Regions from separate parts of the Homo sapiens genome. Here all the other regions are linked to region 5. The links are contacts of gene promoters, found by promoter capture Hi-C in blood cells and fetal thymus (Javierre and others, 2016). All regions are on one chromosome and are shown on one strand. The core of a region is centred on a gene start or on the middle of the fragment in contact, and the rest is flanking DNA. Distances in the headings are between cores, read along the strand shown. Region 1 overlaps MAP7 (microtubule associated protein 7). Region 2 overlaps MAP7 (microtubule associated protein 7). Region 3 has its middle 40 kb from the start of BCLAF1. Region 4 has its middle 24 kb from the start of BCLAF1. Region 5 holds the start of MAP7 (microtubule associated protein 7). Region 6 overlaps LOC124901408 (a long non-coding RNA gene).

Region 1 (2,818 bases), core at 90-2,589, 200 kb after region 5:
CAGTGTATTCTGCAATGCCTTGTGAGACACTTAGGACAGGCATCTTCATTTTTTCCGTAAAAAAGGAAGGTTTAATAATTTTAAAAATACACAAATATTCAAATCAGAAATGCTTTAGTATGTGTTCCAAAGTCAATACTTCTCACTCAGTAGAGAAAGTAAACTATTTTGACTGGGCGTGGTGGCTCATGGCTGTAATCCCAGCACTTTGGGAGGCCGATGGGGGCAGATCACTCGAGGCCAGGAGTTCGAGACCATCCTGGCCAACACGAAGAAACCCTTTCTCTACTAAAAATACAAAAATTAGCTAGGCATGGTGGCTTGCCCCTGTAGTCCCAGCTATTTGGGAGGCTGAGACTCAGGAACCACTTTAACCCAGGAGGCAGAAGTTGGAGTGAGCTGAGACTGTACCACTGCACTCCAGCCTGGGCAACAGAGTGAGACCCTTCTCAAAAAAGGAAAAAGAAAGTAAACTATTTATTCAATCAGGCAAAAAAAAAGCAAAGTGTTAAAAAGCAATAGAAAGGTTGGATTTACATTAGCATTGTTTTACAATTTGAGAAGACAAACTGACTTGCTAACAATGTTCAAGCAGTTGGTATTACTGAGACTAAGGTTAATTTGTTGAGCATTGAACAAGTTTTGAAGCTTGCACACATATGTATATGCTGCAATGAAATAAAATGAATGGTAAAATTAGTTTAGCACTCATTTGATGCATAGGCATTATTTGGCTACATTGTAAAGCATAATAATAAGCCTATAACAGAGAGTGGTAATCTAAGACAAACCATAGAAGATTAAGTATTTGGGGCCAATTAAGTATATCTCAAAAATAAATCCAAGATATTAAGCATGAATTCATAAGGATCAAGATGAGGTCAGAGGCAGATTTAAGGGGCAAAGATAAGAAGATCGGTCTTCAAAAATTTACATATGAAATTATGCAAGGGCTTTAGGAGGCTGGAATATCTAGAAAGTGTGCGAAATGGCTTAATGAGAAAAACACAGGACCAGAGATTAAGAGATCGTGCATTTAGCCTCAACTATCTCTCAGTAGTTGTGTGACTTTGTGCAAATCATTTACTCCCCCCTCCAAATTATAATCCCCTCATCTTTGAGGCAAAGGTCCTCATAAGTGGTACTCTATCAGATGAATATAAAAATGCCTGCAGCAGAAATCATTAAATGTGTAGAACTGCTGCTGATGATGATTTATTTCTATTAATGATGATCTGTTGTAATTGATAAATTGTTCTATTTGATAATTTTCATAACAAAATGACAGATTTAAAATTTTTTTGTTGTTGTTTAGAGACAGGGTCTTACTCCATAGCCCAGGCTGGAATGCAGTGGTGCCATCATAGCTCACTGAAGCCTCAAACTCCTGAGCTCAAGTGATCCTCCCACCTCGACTGCCAGAGTAGCTTGGACTACTGGTGCGTGCCACCACACACAGCTAATTTTTTTCTTTTGTAGAGACGGGGGTCTTGCTATGTTTACCAGGCTAGTCTTGAACTCCTGGCCTTGAGCAGTCCTCCCATCTCGGCCTCCCAAAGCGCTAGGATTACAGGCATGAGCCACTGTGCCTGACCTAGATTTTTTAAAATAAGAATTTAAGGTACAAATACACCACAATTTATTATTTTTGTTAGTAATGATGTGACTCACCAGTCTGATTTTTTTAATTGTAGATTTATAAAATTATTCATTATAAAACATTTTGGTTTTCCTAATAATGTGTTTTCCAGTTTTAAGACTAACTTATTTCTATTTTTATTTTTCAAATTCCTTAGCACTCCCGATTTGGAAAAACAACCAAATGAAAATGGTGTATCTGTTCAGAATGAAAATTTTGAAGAAATTATAAACTTACCCATTGGATCTAAACCATCCAGATTAGATGTCACCAACAGTGAGAGCCCAGAAATTCCTTTGAATCCAATTTTGGCCTTTGATGATGAAGGGACACTTGGGCCCCTGCCTCAGGTAGATGGTGTTCAGACACAGCAGACTGCAGGTAAGCTTGCCTCCAACTCCCTTCTGTAGTCATCAGAAATATCTGACACCCAGGAGGACACGAACTGCTGCCTTCTACAGTATGATTGTGGTAACACTTTGTTCTTCAAAGGACCAAGTAAGCCACAGTGGAAGAGATTGTGCCTGGCTCATAGAAATTGAATTTTGAGTTGGATTGGACAACTTCTAAGGCCTCTCCTATTCTCTCAGTCAGTGCAGAAGTCCAGTCCGCAGCACCCAGTGGGTGTCTGTCAGCCTCTCTGCACAGAGCAGCACCCATTACCCGACATCATGCATGCTCAGAATATGCTTTGTAGAAAGACAGGGCTGTCTCCCCATAATTTTGGACCATCCGGCCTAGTGCTGCCCACTAGAGAAAGATCTGAGTTTTTTCCATCTTTCTGAGGTCTTCATGTATTTGAAGACTGCCATCATGTTCTCCCACCATTTTTCTCTTATTTGGGTTTGGCAACCTGGGTAATAAATTATTGTCCTTTCAAAATGTGACATGATGGATAGTTACGATTTAGGTGATGAAACCAGTACTCACACTGAGTCTAAAGATCTTAACTTGTTAAATGATTTTGTTGCTGTTGAAACTGCCTGTGACTTTCTTATACAATGTCTCTTTGACCCACACTTGACCTGAAGTCTTTGTGCAAAAAGAACAATCAGGACCCAAAGAAAGAAGACATAATATCAAATATTACTAACTCAGTGGTCATAGCAGCTCAGCAACGCAATCCCATCAGTCTCAGGAATTAGCAAGATAATCTGTGCTCCCTGTCTCTTCAAACCT
Region 2 (2,928 bases), core at 39-2,538, 170 kb after region 5:
GATAGACCTTCTTAAGGCAGTAGAATCTTGGAACTGAAAAAGATCTACTGGATAGATCACCTACTCTAGTTGGGGTGATAGAGTCCCTAAGAGGTTGCGAGCCTCTCTTTAATGTCCTACAGGCTAATTATTGCAGAAGGGTGACTCCTCACCCGTGTGACCGCCACACTGCATCCTCAGTTCTCACCTTCATGGGTGTCCTTTCTTAGATTGACTCTGACTCCATGCATTCTCTCTCTCTCTCTCTGTGTGTGTGTGTGTGTGTGTGTGTGTGTGTGTGTGTGTGTGTAAGGTTAGAAGTGGTAAGGAGTAGAGAATTAGGACATAGGACATCAGCGTTAAGGGAAGTTCAATAACCAGTTCATAGAGGGGGCCAGAAAACTGCCCTATGAATCATGGTAGAGGCCCAGAAAATAGAATACTAAGCAGAAATAATAGGACAAGAGGGAGAACGCTAGATTTGAGAGTTCTGCTTCTCTGCCTCCTTACCAAAGAACTGTCAATCAGTTCCTGGTCTAGCAGGCCAGGTCAGCCTGAAGGGGCTCCCATATATTGTCTAGGAAGGAATTTTTTTCTTTTTAACTTAAGCAAAGCCCTCAGTAGAACCCTGAAAGGCTTAGGCCTTTTATTATAGTGAGAATTTTAAAACTTCTTCTGAATTTAAATTTCTCTAATTTAGAAATTTAAGGCCAGGCACAGTGGCTCACACCTGTATTTCCAGCACTTTGGGAGGCCAAAGTGGGTGAATCATTTGAGCCCCAGGAATTTGAGACCAGCCTGGGCACCATCGCGAAACCCCATCTCTACTAAAAATACAAAAATTAGCCAAGCGTGATGGTGTGCACCTGTAGTCCTAGTTACTCGGGGGCTGAGGCAGGGGGATCACCTAAGCCTTGGGAGGTCAAGACTGTGGTGAGCTATGATTGTACCACTGTACTCCAGCCTGGGCAATAGAGTGAGATCGTATCTCAAAAAGAAAATAATTAAAAATAAATAAAAGAAATTTAAGTAATTCCATTAGTTCTTTCCTGCTATTTTTAAAAGTTAGTTATACTTTATTATCTCATTAGAAAGCATTCTTACCAGATTGTTAAATTAGAGGACCTTATAGACAAATGGGTCAAGCAGGTATATACATCATTATTAGATTGTTTGAGCTTTCTCAGTCCTAAGGCATAGGCCTTAAAGCTGAGATTAAATTGAGGCTCCGATACCATCAGGGCTCATGTTCTGCTGTAATATATCCAAAGAGCTCTACTAGTTATTAAAAATACTGAAATATTTCCATATCACTTTTCCAAGATGTGCTTCCCCGGGCCCTCCAAAGCCAAGGGAAGCCAGTCATTAGTGTAGTGTCTGTGCCTTGTCAGTTTTTAAATATTTTAATTATTACACCTGAATATGGTGTTACATGGACTGATAAGATTACTTTGGTTAAAAGAAACCTCTGATTATGAAAGGTTTCTGTAATTGCTGGAACAGAATGTTGCCACTGGAAATTTTTACATTAAAAGTATATATTATTATCTTTAAGCTATCTGCTTAACCAACTTTTTCTCAAGAAAGAATATTAGGAAGTTGGAAAAGAGTAAGAAAAATTGCCTACTTTTTGCTTAAAATCCATCAATACATTTTTTCCCCAGAATCTTCATCATAGGACTCAGAGGTAGACCTCGAAATAAATTCTGCTCACAGGCTTGTTCTGTTTTACCTGAGCAGTGTTGTTTGTTCTTGTTTTAATTAGAATTAATTGCCAACACTTAAAATATAGAATACTTCATGTAACATTTCAGTTTTCTACTTCTAAAGAAAAAATCAGGACCTGGCAACATGTGTCTAATTTCTTCCTGGCACCTATTACCTGAAATGGAATAGTGATGTCACGCTTATGGGAGGAAGTGGTAAGGCAGGTATCCATAAAGTTTGTTTAGCCCCGATCATTTATTTATGTTAACTTGCATGGCCCCCAGAGGCCTTTGAGTTTGCCTCTCTTCATCTGGGTGGCCTATAATGGAAATTGTCAATATCTCAATTTTAAGTGCTTAAATAGGATCGATGCCATAGCGTTGTTCCATGAGAGTTAATATCTCTCCCTTCGGTTTGGTAATCTTAAAATCAGGCCCCTCTAGGGGAAAAAAACAAACTAACAAAACAAAAAACAACAACAACAACAATGCACCAATTCTCCTTTATTAACCTTTACTAAAAAGTTATCTTACGGACGCTCTGTCTCCATCTTGGTCAAGGCATAGTTATGAATGTGGTGGAAGTGGAAACATGTTTCTCCTAGCAATATGTTTAGTTCAGAGTATCAGGAGATATGAAACAGATCTCTCTGGATTTGCTTTACCACAGGTTACAATGGGTTTTTAATCATTTGAGATAAATTTTTTGGTCGATGCCTTCAGACTCATGGAAATAAAGTAACTGAACTTCTTAATGGAGAAAGGAGACTTATCTTTTCCATGACAACCCATCTCTGCAGTTGTAAGCCACAGTCATCGTACAGTTTTTCTAAGAAAAGGAAGAGTTTAACTTTCTTCCCTTTCTCATCTCTTGAAAATAGTTCTGTGGAAGATTTTCAGTTAGTCCTAATCACCTTTTCCCCACTGATTTTACCCTGTACATGTATTCTAATTTTAGATTGTATTCTATTCTGTTGTTACACTGCTGCACATAGCTTATGATAGTACTTAGCCCGTGGTGCTTTCTAATTGTAACTATTGCAGTAGTTTTTATAACATCTTTTTAATTAATCTTAATGTCAGATAATATTTAATTTAACCATGAAGACTCTTCTAGTAAACAGACTCTAACAAACAATTCACTAATTCTTAAATTCACCAGAGCCTGATCAAAATATTTACTCTTTTAAATTAGTCACATAGTTAAGGTACTTATTGGAAATTGATACTTCATTCCAAATGG
Region 3 (2,779 bases), core at 105-2,604, 220 kb after region 5:
TAGTTTTCCTGTTATCTCCCTTCTGCCACCTATCTTTCTCTATATCAATGGGAGAATATCAGAAATATGGGACAGAGACATCTGGAAGCCTGAACAAATACATACTCATATGTTGGGTCTCACTCTGTCACCCAGACTGGAGTGCAGTGCATAATCACAGCTCACTGCAGCCTTGACCTCCTGGGCTCAGGTGATCCTCCCACCTCAGCCTCATGGGTAGCTGGGACTACGGGCTTTGCTCCACCACACACACCTAATTTTTTGTAATTTTTGTAGAGATGAAGTTTCACCATGTTGCCCAAGTTGTTCTCAAACTTCTGAACTCAAGCAATTCACCCACGTTGGCCACCCAAACTGCTGGGATTACAGACATGAGCCACTGCATCCAGCTGCTAGCCACTTCTTATGAAATATATTTTGAGACGGTGTCTCGCTCTGTTGCTCAGGCTGGAGTGCAGTGCTGCAATCAGCTCACTGCAGCCTTGAACTCCTGGCCTCAAACAATCCTCCTGCCTCTGTCTCCCAAAGTGCTGGGATTACAGGCATGAGTCACCACACACAGTCTGATCTAACTCTTACCATCTAATGCATGGACCCTGCTCAAAACCTTTTGTTGTTTCCCCATAGCTTTCAGCTCATGGAGGCCTTTAAAAGGAGATTCATCGGTCAGGTGCAGTGGCTCACGCCTGTAATCCCAACACTTGGGGAAACCGATGCGGGCGGATCACAAGGTCAGGAGATCGAGGCCATCCTGGTCAACATGGTGAAACCCCGTCTCTACTGAAAATACAAAAATTAGCTGGGCATGGTGGCACATGCCTGTAATCCCAGCTACTCAGGAGGCTGAGGCAGGAGAATCGCTTGAACCAGGGAGTCGGAGGTTTCAGAGAGCCAAGATCACACCACTGCACTCCAGAGTGAGACTCCGTCTCAAAAACAAAACAAAACAAAGGAAACAAACAACAAAAACGGAGATCCATCAACCGATTTTGACTCAAGGTAGATGAATACTTGTGACCTAAAAAAAGGAAAAGGAAAATATTACATAACGTCTAACACTTTTTTTTCATATTAAACAGAGACCCAAAAAATGCATGTAAAACTTTTGAATAGTTAGGTTTTTAATGTAAATCAGTTTCTTTCTCTTATGTGGAGATACGACTAATAAGAATGTTGTTAAGATTTATTTTATCTCTAAGCTTTGATGAATTTTGAAGCTTAGTGGTAACTGCCTTTGCAAATTTTTATCCTGGCCTAGGGAGTTCTAAAAAATTTCCTATATTCAATAGAGATACAATTATAATAGCTATCATTCGTTGTGTTTACTATGTGCTGGGCACTGTAGCTGTATATGCATAGCTCCTTTAATCCTATTGTGGTTATTATCCTCTGAGACCGAGAGAAGGAAAGAATTCTGTGAATGTTGCACAGCTCCTGAGTACATGGCCAGGGCTACAGCCCAGGTCTGTCTGCCTCCAGAGCCCAAGCTTACAACCACTGCTCCATCTGTGATGTGTCCTCCAAAATGAGTTCACTGAAATCCATGTGCTCTGCTGCATGTGAAGAGAATTATTGCTTTAGTTTAACAGTCAATTCTTGCAAAAAAAGGAGCCGGCAGTTTTAATTAAACACAGAGAAACTGAACAAATAAGCAAATATATTGGAGATAATTGGAGTCAGGTTTCTCATTCTCAGGCAGTGTAGTTACAAATATGGAAAGAGGAAAGGCTAAAATAAACCCCATAGTGTTGAACTGGCTTTGCAGGTATTGATGTGAATGCACAGTTTCTAACAGATTTATGTGTGTACATATGTGTATGCAAGCATTTATCTCTAAGCTCTGTCCACTGAGAGGGCCTAGAAGCAATGACAATCCCTCGTAATGAACATACCTAGGGCCTAGATATTGGTTACTGAATATCATCCTCCACTAAAGGAACCAGGGCTCTTTGGAGAAATGGCTGATGATAGGCTGGGAGCAGGGAAAGTATAAGATTGATTTGGTACATCTTATGTCCCAGAAAGTAAGACTATGCCCCCAAAATTACGAAAACCTGCCAAAATGACAAAGGAACCAGTCTAAAAGGCCTTCTAATGGCTAAATCTAGGACAAATTGAGCACCAAAATAATATTGATAGTCATAGATTGTGACTCATTGAATAAAAGACAATCTTTGAGGCCATACTGATATAAATTAATACATGAATTAAAAAGAAGGAAAAGATGTAATTCACAATTAAATTCCAGGTAATAAAGACAGAAAGAATGATGGAGTTTTAAAACTACATTTTGCAATTACACTAATAATTGATTCAGGCAATAATCATCAATGAATTCCACAAATGAGTGAGTGAAAATCTGATGAGAAACAGCATGTGTATGTTGTCTTACAGTACCTTTCCACAAGATACCTAACCTTTATTTATTCAAAAAGTACAAAATACTTTTCAATTAACTTTAAAGTATTTATTCAAAAAGTACAAAATACTTATCAATTAACTTTAAAGTAGAGGAATCTGGCAAATATCATTTTAACCAATGGATAAATGTTAACCCTAGTCCTAGTCATGGGACAAAGACACACGTGTGCCTCCTCATACAATACACTGAGAAATCATGGCATTTTGGTGTTCCTGCCAAAAATGCATAACCTGAATTTGATGACAAGGAGACATCAGACAATCCCAAAGTAAAGAGCATTTTATAAAGTAACAGGCGTGTACTCTTCAAAAATGTTAAAGCTATGCAAGGTAAAGAAAGACAGACATTTCCAGATCA
Region 4 (2,794 bases), core at 124-2,623, 240 kb after region 5:
TGCTATATTTCATTCATTTTGGTTGCTTTATTCAAGACTGCAGTGAGCTGTGATAGTGCCACACCACTCCAGCCTGGGTGACAGAGACCCTGTCTCTAAAAAATAAATTTAAAAAATTCCCTGTATATGTTTTATGTATGTTTTGCTAGAATTTTTTTCTAGGCTCCTAATAGTCTCTGAAGTATTACAAATGAGGTCTTCTTTCTAATTTCAATCTCTAGTTGTTTGTTGCTGGTGTTTGGAAATGCAACTGTCTTGCTAATTTGCTAACCTTTCCTATTTCGAATATATCACCTGTAAATTCTTTTTTTTTTGGTGGGGGAGGGGAGTAAGGGTAGGATGGAGTCTTGCTCTGTTGCCCAGGCTGGAGTGCAGTGGCACCATCATAGCTCATTGTAGCCTCAAACTCCTGGGCTCAAGAGATCCTCCTACCTCAACCTCCCCAGTAGTTGGGACTACAGGCGTGAACCATCGCATTTGGTTAATTTTTAAGTTTTTTGTAGAGACGAGGTCTTGCTATGTTTCCCAGGTTTGTCTCAAACTCCAGGACTCAAGTGATCCTCCTTGATCCACCTGGATCCACCTCCAGGTCTCAAGTGATACTCTTGAAGTATTAGGGTTACAGGAGTGAGCCACCATACCTGGCCTATAAATTATCTTATTTGTTCTGTGTAAATAATAATGCCGTCTATAAATAAAATGGTTTATCTTTATGATTCTAATTTTTTATTGCTATTGAGGAGTGGTAAGAGTGAACATCTCGTTTCATTTTTGCTTTAAAGAAGATATTTCTGGTGTTTTCCCATACAGAATGATGTTTGCTTAAAAGCTTTTTATAGACATTTTTATGAGGTTAAGGAAACTGGCTATATTTTTGATTTGTTAAAAGTTTGTATTATGAATTTATATTGGATTTTATCAGCATAAACTTGAGATCATCACAAATCTTCTCTTTTCTTAATCTGCTATTATGGTGAATTATATCTATAGTTTTTCTGATATTAAACTAACATATGGATGCCTGAGATAAACCCAATTGGGCAAGGGTATCACCTTCCCTGTGCATTGTTGAATTTAATTTCCTTTTTTTTTAAGGATTCTTGAATCTACATTTATGAGTAAAATGAGCCTATAGCTTTTTACTCTGATAATGTCTTTTCCTGGTTTGGTAACAAAGTTATGCTAACCTTTAAAAAGGACTGGGATGTATTCCCCTTTATAGTACAGCAATAAATATGTATTTGTGTATTACATATATGTTACTTCCAGTGTTCATGTTGACAATATTGTTATCAATTTGATTCTTGTCCCATTGTCTGTGATATGCTCTACTAGAGAATAAAGGAGGAAGAGCCCCTTCTCTAAGTGCCATCTGTCAGCCTTGGGGGTTTGTCCCAAAGTGCGGGGAGGTGACTATTCCAGGTAGTCATTCTCCACCTGTTGTCCTCAGCTACCACCCCTTCAGAGTTTGTGCAGTCAACTGATTTTACTCCTGAGGACTGATTTTACTCCTGAAGCAGCAGTTGGAGTCACTACAGGTGCGAGGCAGGCATTGACTGCCCAAGAAAAAGGAGGAGGAAAAGCGATTGTTCTCTTGGGTTCTTCTCTCTTTCCCTTCTCTATTTTTTCTCCATGTATTTATTTATCCTCTCCTCTCTTTCTTTCTCACTTTCCCTGAAAAGTAAATGCCTTTTGGATGATAACAATCTTTTCCTGACTGTGGTCTATCAGGAAGCATGCCGCGTCTTCGAATCCTTTCAGGTTTTCTAAATGGAGCAATGCAAGGAGAATCCCCACCCAAGAGTGAGGGCAGGGGCAAGTTTCCTGACAGGCAGTCAGCTTTGTTTCACCATCTCCTCCTGGGTATCTCTGTTGAATCACCAATGCCACTTCCCTGTAGACTCTAGGGAAGCTTGACTCACCTACAGATACTGCACAAGTCCTTTAAATCTCTATTGTTATTAATTCCTTTTAATTTGTGTTTAGTCACTTTATTGGCTACTCCTACAATTTATAATAATAGTAATGATAATAGTAGTTGTGGAGGTAGTAGTACTAGTAATAGTGATAGTATTATCTCTATATTATTATTATTATTATTATTATTATTATTATTATTTTGAGACAGGGTCTTGCTCTGTTGCCCAGGCTGGAGTGCAGTGGTGCAGTCTCGGCTCACTGCAACCTCCGCCTCCTGGGTTCAAGCGATTTTCATGCCTCAGCCTCCCAAGTAGCTGGGATTACAGGTGCCTGCCACCATGCCCGGCTACTTTTTGTATTTTTAGAAGAGATGGGGTTTTACCATGTTGGCCAGGCTGGTCTCGAACGCCCACCTCAGTCTCCCGAAGTGCTGGGATTACAGGTGTGAGCCACTGTGCCAGGCTAGTATTACCCCTATATTATATTGAGGGGTTACTCTGTTCCAGACACTATACTAAGTGTTTTACATGGATTATTTAATTCACGTATATGTATGAATTTAGAACTTTTTGGATTTTAGTTAGGTAATATATTGCATATAATATATAGTATGGAACTCAATCAGCAGGGTCTAGGTAACAACTTGTAATCAAGTAAATGTGTATATCTGCAGTGAAATGTGTGACTATACTAAATTACATAGAGACTACAAGTAGCCTCAAATCATTTCAGATCAGGTCTGTGACCAAATGAATCCAGGTATGGTTGGGTTTTGGCACAAAAAGTCTTAGAAAGAAACTTGCAGTTTTTAGAGAATTTTTGATTTTGGATCCACAGGTAAGGAACTGTGGACCTACAGCATAATTATTTCACA
Region 5 (2,999 bases), core at 430-2,929:
TATTTCATTTATTTTTGTTTAACTTGTGGCAGATAAATACAGGTTATCAAAAGAATGGGACAATGAGTAAGCACACACCAAACTAAACAAAACAAAACAAATAGAAACATCACAAGTCTTGAATTTTTTTTTTTTTTTTTTTTTTTTTTTTTTTTTTTTTGGTCAAAGAAAGAACTCATTGGTTGATTTAAGTCGGTGGTAAATCAGAAAGTTGAAAATAAATCACCCTCCTTCTCCAGGGTTCTTCCGGATAGTTCAACTCTAAATTCAGCTGAGAGTATTTCTGATGCTCAAAGAAAAGTGTCTTAAACTCTGATGTTTTAATGTAGTTAAAAAAAACACAAAAAATCTTTGCTGAGGCCCAAGCTGAGGTCAAAAACTACCTCTAGCCATCTGGTGCTTTATTTTTATTGATTAGAAGTCTCTGATAAGACTGATTTGAATGTGATTTAGGAATATCACATTCTAAATGGTCAGTTTGCCTATTCCATTATAGAAATGACACTACGGGAAAATTCATCATCACAGACCACAGCAGAAGTGTTCTTTAGTTAAAGCTCTACCTAGTCATCCAGAAAGCCAGTAAGTAAACCAAATAAAAATAGTTCACTGGGCTCAGAGTGGCAAGTTTTGCATGCAAAGATCGTGAAAATTGTAACCCTAACAATAAATCCAATACTGTTCTCGACTCTCTTGTGTGTCCAGTGCTGCTGCAGTCCTTGGAAGGCTTTTAAACTGTTCAGAGCTTGCTGGTTATCTTCAGCCAAGCCAGAGAGTGGGAGTGCAGTGCATTTTAGTGTAACCATGCGGAACTGGTCGCTCCTTGATTTTGTGCCGTATGTTTCCATTTGTGTAGGCTTTTTCCCCCCTCAGTATTTTGTTGCTTATCCTTTAGAGCGAAATTGGTTTTTCCTCGGCCAATAATCTGTTTCTTTAAAAAAAGAAAAATTCGTTACCTATTGCCTTTTTTTCTGGTCTTCCTGAGCAAGCCAGAAGTCACAAGGTCGTTTACTAAACGGAAACTAAGAAAAAGAAAAGCCACATCAGCCGGCACAAGCCTCTCTAACTTGTGTGCCCTGAGGCTCATCAGATGCGAAGTCCTGGCGACAAGATAGGGTCGCCCGCAGTGGCTTCCTAAAGCGCAGATCCAGGCCGGCTCCCAGCGTGGAATCCGACCCATGTACTTCGCCTCTCCACGTGGCATCAGATGCTCTGCCGGCTGTCACCGTGAACTCCAGCCCTCGCGGAGCCGACACTGACCTGGCTACTTCAGAGTTCGGAGGGAAATAGCGTCTCCGTACCCTCGCCCCACCTGGGCTGCTCCTCGGACCGCCGCTCGTCCCAGACTCCAGGAGGCGCCACCAGGCCTCGCTGACCCCGCTCCATATCTCCGGGAGCCCTCAGCTGGTCGGCCGCGGCGACCGGAAGCTCCGGACTGAGGTACTGGTTCCGCCCGCCGCTCTTCCAGCCGAGACTCGGCAGCGGCGGTCGGAGCGGCTGCCACGCCGCACCTGCCCGCGAGGGGGCGCGCCAGGCCCAGGCCGCAGCCGACTGCCGCGCTCTCTGTCCCCGCCCTCCGCCATCCCCGGACTGCGCTCACCTGTCTGGGCCGCTGGCCTGGGAGGCGGGGGCCGGCGGGAGCCAAGCCGAGGAAAGGGCGGAGCGGCTCTCCGGGCGCGTCATCGGAGCACCATGGCGGAGCTAGGAGCTGGCGGCGACGGCCACAGGGGCGGCGACGGCGCAGTGCGAAGCGAAACAGGTGACCGCACAGCGGGGATAGTGGGGGTCCCGTCGGGCAGGGGACGGCGAGCGGGGCCGGCGGGCTGGCACCGAAATCACCCGGCGCCGGCAGCCCCCTCCCCGCCCGCGCGGCCGCGGCCCGGAACAACCGGCCCTGCGCGCCGCGCACCCTGCTCCGAGAGCGCCTTCCCCCGCCCTTCGCCGCCGCGGCTCGGCCAGCCCGGCTCGGCCCCGGCCGGGGTTGCGGCCGCCCTCGGGCGCTCCACCGCGACTTTCCCGCAACAGGTGGAGGCGAGCCGGGGGAGGAAACGGAGAGACCCCGGCCGCTGCCCTCCCCGCCGCGGCCTCGGGTCTAATTCAGTTGAATGGGAAATCGTATCCCCCAGACCAAACCAGTGGCCAGAGAGTCGTCGGCCAGGTGCGACTGGCAGGACGAGCAGTTTCTGGGCACCTCCTCCCGCCTTCCCTGGTCGCCCCGGGTGCCGGGGGCTCCTCAGCGGGGTCGGTGTGGGGCAGGACCGCGGGGTGAGCGGCCCGCCCCCCAATCTGGTGCCCGCAGTGGCGACGACCGTCGTCCGAGGGGACCGAGCTCGGGAGGGCCGGGGCCCAGTGCAGCACGGTGGGGGTTTGCGAGTGCGGGCTTGACGGGATCAGACTTTCGTTGACTTGTCGGAGTTCTCAGAGTTTTTTGTTTTTAGTCTGTGCAGGAGCCCAAAGGAGGATTGTTGGCTCTGCAGCCCGGGATTTGGTGGTCAGGCCTCTGTGTTGAGGATACCCCTCCCCCACAACCTCCAGGGGCACACTTAGGGACAGGGGATCACGTCCCCAAGACCAGCAGCAAGGCTTCCCAAGACCAGCAGCAAGGCTTCCCAACCCCGCCCATCTCTCCATAGTATGAAGCCGATTTTTCTCCCTCGTGATTTTTTTTTCTCCAGAGGCTATCTTGCAAATCCGTCCCTCTCCACTGGTTCCCTCTTCTATTCTTGGCCAGTAAGCTGTTTCTATATCTTCCTACACTTGGGGATGGGGGCAGTGAGGCAGTTTCTTACTTTAAAAAGAAATTCAATTCTTAGACTCTCCAATTGCAAGCTGTTTTCCACTTCCATACGGTCACAATCGGAAGCATTTGTTTCCTAAATGTAAGAATCACTGTCTCCCCACCATCAAGTATGCTTATTTTAACGTGAAAGGTCCAGAGAGCTCTGAAACAGTATTTGCAAATTATGTATCTGCTATTGCTAGGAAGAGGTTGGGTACGT
Region 6 (2,866 bases), core at 206-2,705, 250 kb after region 5:
CGAGGTGGCTCACGCTTGTAATCCCAGCACTTTGGGAGGCCGAGGTTGGCAAATCACCTGAGGTCAGGAATTTGAGAACAGCCCGGCCAACATGGTGAAACCCCGTCTCTACTAAAAATACAAAAATTTGCCAGGCGTGGTGGTGCATGCCTGTAATTCCAGCTACTTGGGGGGCAGAGGCAGGAGAATTGCTTGAACCTGGGAGGTGGAGGTTGCAGTGAGCTGAGATCGTGCCACTGCACTCCAGCCTGGGCAACAGAGCGAGACTCTGTCTCAAAAAACAAAAACAAGACCTCTCAGTTTTTAGGTCTTCATTATCTTACACAATTCAAATAAAATTCAATGGTCTACATTTTTAAAAGTTTTTTGATATTAATATTATGAAAGTAATTTTTATTGTAGAAATTTTAGAAAATACAGAAGAGCAAAGGAAGAAAATGTTTTAAAAATTGCCAGTGATGTGGCCATTCAATATATACACAGAACAGTATCATTTTGAGGTTGATTCTTCTGTTTCTACATAGATAGATAAATTTTTAAATGAGATTTTTAAAATGACTTATTTATTTATTTTTAGAGATAGTCTCCCTATGTCACCCAGGCTGGAGTGCAACTTCAAGGGACCCTAAGCCAGAACCACCCAAATAATCACTCTCAGATTTCTGATCCACAGGAGCTGTGAGATAGTAAACATTAAGCTGGTAAATTTGGGGTCATTCATTACGCAGCAGTAGACAACCAATACATTTGATTTCACTTATTTCCTACTTCATAGGCTGTTCTCAGTCTCCTTTATTGGCTCCGCCTCCTCTTTTAACAAATCTCTAAATGTTGGGATTCTTTAGGGTTCACTCCTAGGCTGTCTTCTCTTGTCTCCCTATATTTCTCATCCTGTGATTTTATCTTATTTTATTTTATTTTTTTTTAGAAAGGGTCTCGCTCTGTCACCCATGCTGGAGTGCAGTGGTGCAATCATGGCTCACTGCAGTCTCAACATCCTGGGCTCTAGAAATCCTCCTGCCTCAGCCTTCCAAGTAGATGGGACTACAGTTGTGCACCACCACACCCAACCAATTTTTAAACTTTTAATAGAGACGGGGTCTCCCTATGTTGCCCAGGCTGGTCTTGAAGTCCTAGGCTCAAGCCATTCTCCTGCCTTGGCATCCCAAATTGTTGGGATTACAGGTGTGAGCCAATGCGCCAAGCCTCATCCAATAATTCTAAATATAATCTTTTTGCTTTATCTCTTGGCTAGAACTCACCTCTGAACCACGGATGCACACATTTAACTTCATACCTTGCCTCTGTACTTAAAAGTTTCACACACATATCAAGCCTAATATATTCAAAATGGAATTCCTGATTTCCTTCCCTTTTCCCAATCTGTTTCATTCTTCCCTTCCCTATCATTCTCTCTAATCTTTCCAATTATTATAATGGTATCAGGCCGGGCGCTGTGGCTCACACCTGTAATCCCAGCACTTTGGGAGGCCGAGGCGGGTGGATCAAGAGGTCAAGACCATCCTGGCTAACATGGGGAAACCCAGTCTCTACTAAAAATACAAAAATTAGCCGGGCGTGGTGGTGCGCGCCTGTAGTCTCAGCTACTCGGGGGGCTGAGGCAGGAGAATCGCTTGAACCCGGGAAGCGGAGGTTGCAGTGAGCTGAGATCGTGCCACTGCACTCCAGCCTGGCGATAGTGGGAGACTCTGTCTCAAAAAAACCAAAAAAACAAAAAAACAGAAAAAAAAAATCACGGATCATTAGAGAAAAGCAAATAAAAACCACAATGAGATATCATCTCATACCAGTCAGAATGGCTACTCTTAAAAAGTCAAAAAAATACCAGATGCTGGCGAGGTTGTGAAGAAAAAGAAATTCGATATACTGTTGGTGAGAGTGTAAATTAGTTCAGCCATTGTGGAAGGCAGTGTGGTGATTCCTCAAAGATCTAAAAACAGAAATATTTGACCCAGGCAGGGCACAGTGGTTCACACCTGTAATCCCAGCACTCTGGGAGGCCGAGGTGGGTGGATCATGAGGTCAGGAGTTCAAGACCAATATGGTGAAACCCCATCTCTACTAAAAATACAAAAATTAGCCAGGCGTGGTGGTGCGCACCTATAGTCCCAGCTACTCAGGAGGCTGAGGCAGGAGAATCATTTGAACCTGGGAGGCAGAGATTGCAGTGAGCCGAGATCGCGCCACTGCACTCCAGCCTGGGCAACAGAGCGAGACTCCATCTCGAATATAAAAAAGAAAAAAAAAAAAAGAAATATTTGACCCAGCAATGCCATTACTGGGTATATACCCAAATAAATACAAATTGTTCTATTATAAAGAGAACATGCACACATATGTTCATTGCAGCACTAGTCACAGTAGCAAAGACATGGAATCAACCTAAATGTCCATCAGTGATGAACTGGATAAAGAAAATGTGGTACATATACACCACAGAATACTATGCAGCCATAAAAAAATAATGAGATCATGTCTTTTACAGGAACAGGGATGGAGCTGGAGGCCATTATCCCTAGCAAACTAACACAGCAACAGTAAACCAAATACATGTTCTCACTTATAAGTGGGAGCTAAATGATGAGAACACATACATGGACACGCTGAGGGGAAGAACACATGCTAGGGCCTTTAGGAAGGTGAGGGTGGGAGGAGGAAGAGGATGAGTAAAAACAACTAATGGGTACTAGGCTTAATACCTTGGTGATGAAATAACCTTTACAACAACCCCCCAGGATGCAAGTTTACCTGCGTAACAAATCTGCACTTGTACTCCTGAACTTAAAAGTTAAATAAATAAATAGATAAATAAGGTCTCCTTCTTTGATTTTCTATCACGTCCTGA

Evidence for each region. The method cuts DNA at HindIII sites, captures the fragments that hold promoters and counts their contacts. A CHiCAGO score of 5 or more calls a contact.
Region 1: a fragment that was not itself captured here is called in contact with the fragment with the promoter of MAP7 in region 5 in 3 of 17 cell types (megakaryocytes, M1 macrophages and M2 macrophages); the score reaches 5.4 in megakaryocytes.
Region 2: a fragment that was not itself captured here is called in contact with the fragment with the promoter of MAP7 in region 5 in 3 of 17 cell types (M2 macrophages, M0 macrophages and megakaryocytes); the score reaches 11.3 in M2 macrophages.
Region 3: a contact is called between a fragment that was not itself captured here and the fragment with the promoter of MAP7 in region 5, in 3 of 17 cell types (megakaryocytes, M2 macrophages and M1 macrophages). The highest score is 6.7, in megakaryocytes.
Region 4: a contact is called between a fragment that was not itself captured here and the fragment with the promoter of MAP7 in region 5, in 4 of 17 cell types (M0 macrophages, M2 macrophages, M1 macrophages and 1 more). The highest score is 10.2, in M0 macrophages.
Region 6: a fragment that was not itself captured here is called in contact with the fragment with the promoter of MAP7 in region 5 in 1 of 17 cell types (megakaryocytes); the score reaches 5.5 in megakaryocytes.

Annotation. Positions count from the first base shown.
Region 1 is chr6:136,345,058-136,347,875 of GRCh38, reverse strand. It overlaps MAP7 (microtubule associated protein 7), which reads left to right. Exons shown (of 18, transcript NM_003980.6): 17 at 1,797-2,020. Among named protein-coding and RNA genes, the nearest start is that of BCLAF1, 57 kb to the right of the region's middle. The HindIII fragment of the contact is 1,377 bases long and covers 651-2,027 here.
Region 2 is chr6:136,379,239-136,382,166 of GRCh38, reverse strand. All of the region lies in intron 6 of MAP7 (microtubule associated protein 7), which reads left to right. Among named protein-coding and RNA genes, the nearest start is that of BCLAF1, 91 kb to the right of the region's middle. The HindIII fragment of the contact is 4,133 bases long and covers 1-2,928 here.
Region 3 is chr6:136,328,608-136,331,386 of GRCh38, reverse strand. No RefSeq gene overlaps it. Among named protein-coding and RNA genes, the nearest start is that of BCLAF1, 40 kb to the right of the region's middle. The HindIII fragment of the contact is 270 bases long and covers 1,220-1,489 here.
Region 4 is chr6:136,312,262-136,315,055 of GRCh38, reverse strand. No RefSeq gene overlaps it. Among named protein-coding and RNA genes, the nearest start is that of BCLAF1, 24 kb to the right of the region's middle. The HindIII fragment of the contact is 1,083 bases long and covers 832-1,914 here.
Region 5 is chr6:136,549,102-136,552,100 of GRCh38, reverse strand. MAP7 (microtubule associated protein 7) reads left to right here and starts at 1,679. Exons shown (of 18, transcript NM_003980.6): 1 at 1,679-1,759. The coding sequence starts at 1,693. It overlaps MAP7-AS1 (MAP7 antisense RNA 1), which reads left to right. Exons shown (of 1, transcript NR_186370.1): 1 at 1-1,378. RefSeq lists silencers at 1,378-1,727, 1,768-1,947, 1,958-2,007 and enhancers at 1,229-1,766, 2,305-2,843. The HindIII fragment of the contact is 6,247 bases long and covers 1-2,999 here.
Region 6 is chr6:136,295,546-136,298,411 of GRCh38, reverse strand. The region is part of intron 2 of LOC124901408 (a long non-coding RNA gene); the gene reads right to left. Among named protein-coding and RNA genes, the nearest start is that of BCLAF1, 7.1 kb to the right of the region's middle. The HindIII fragment of the contact is 4,373 bases long and covers 1-2,866 here.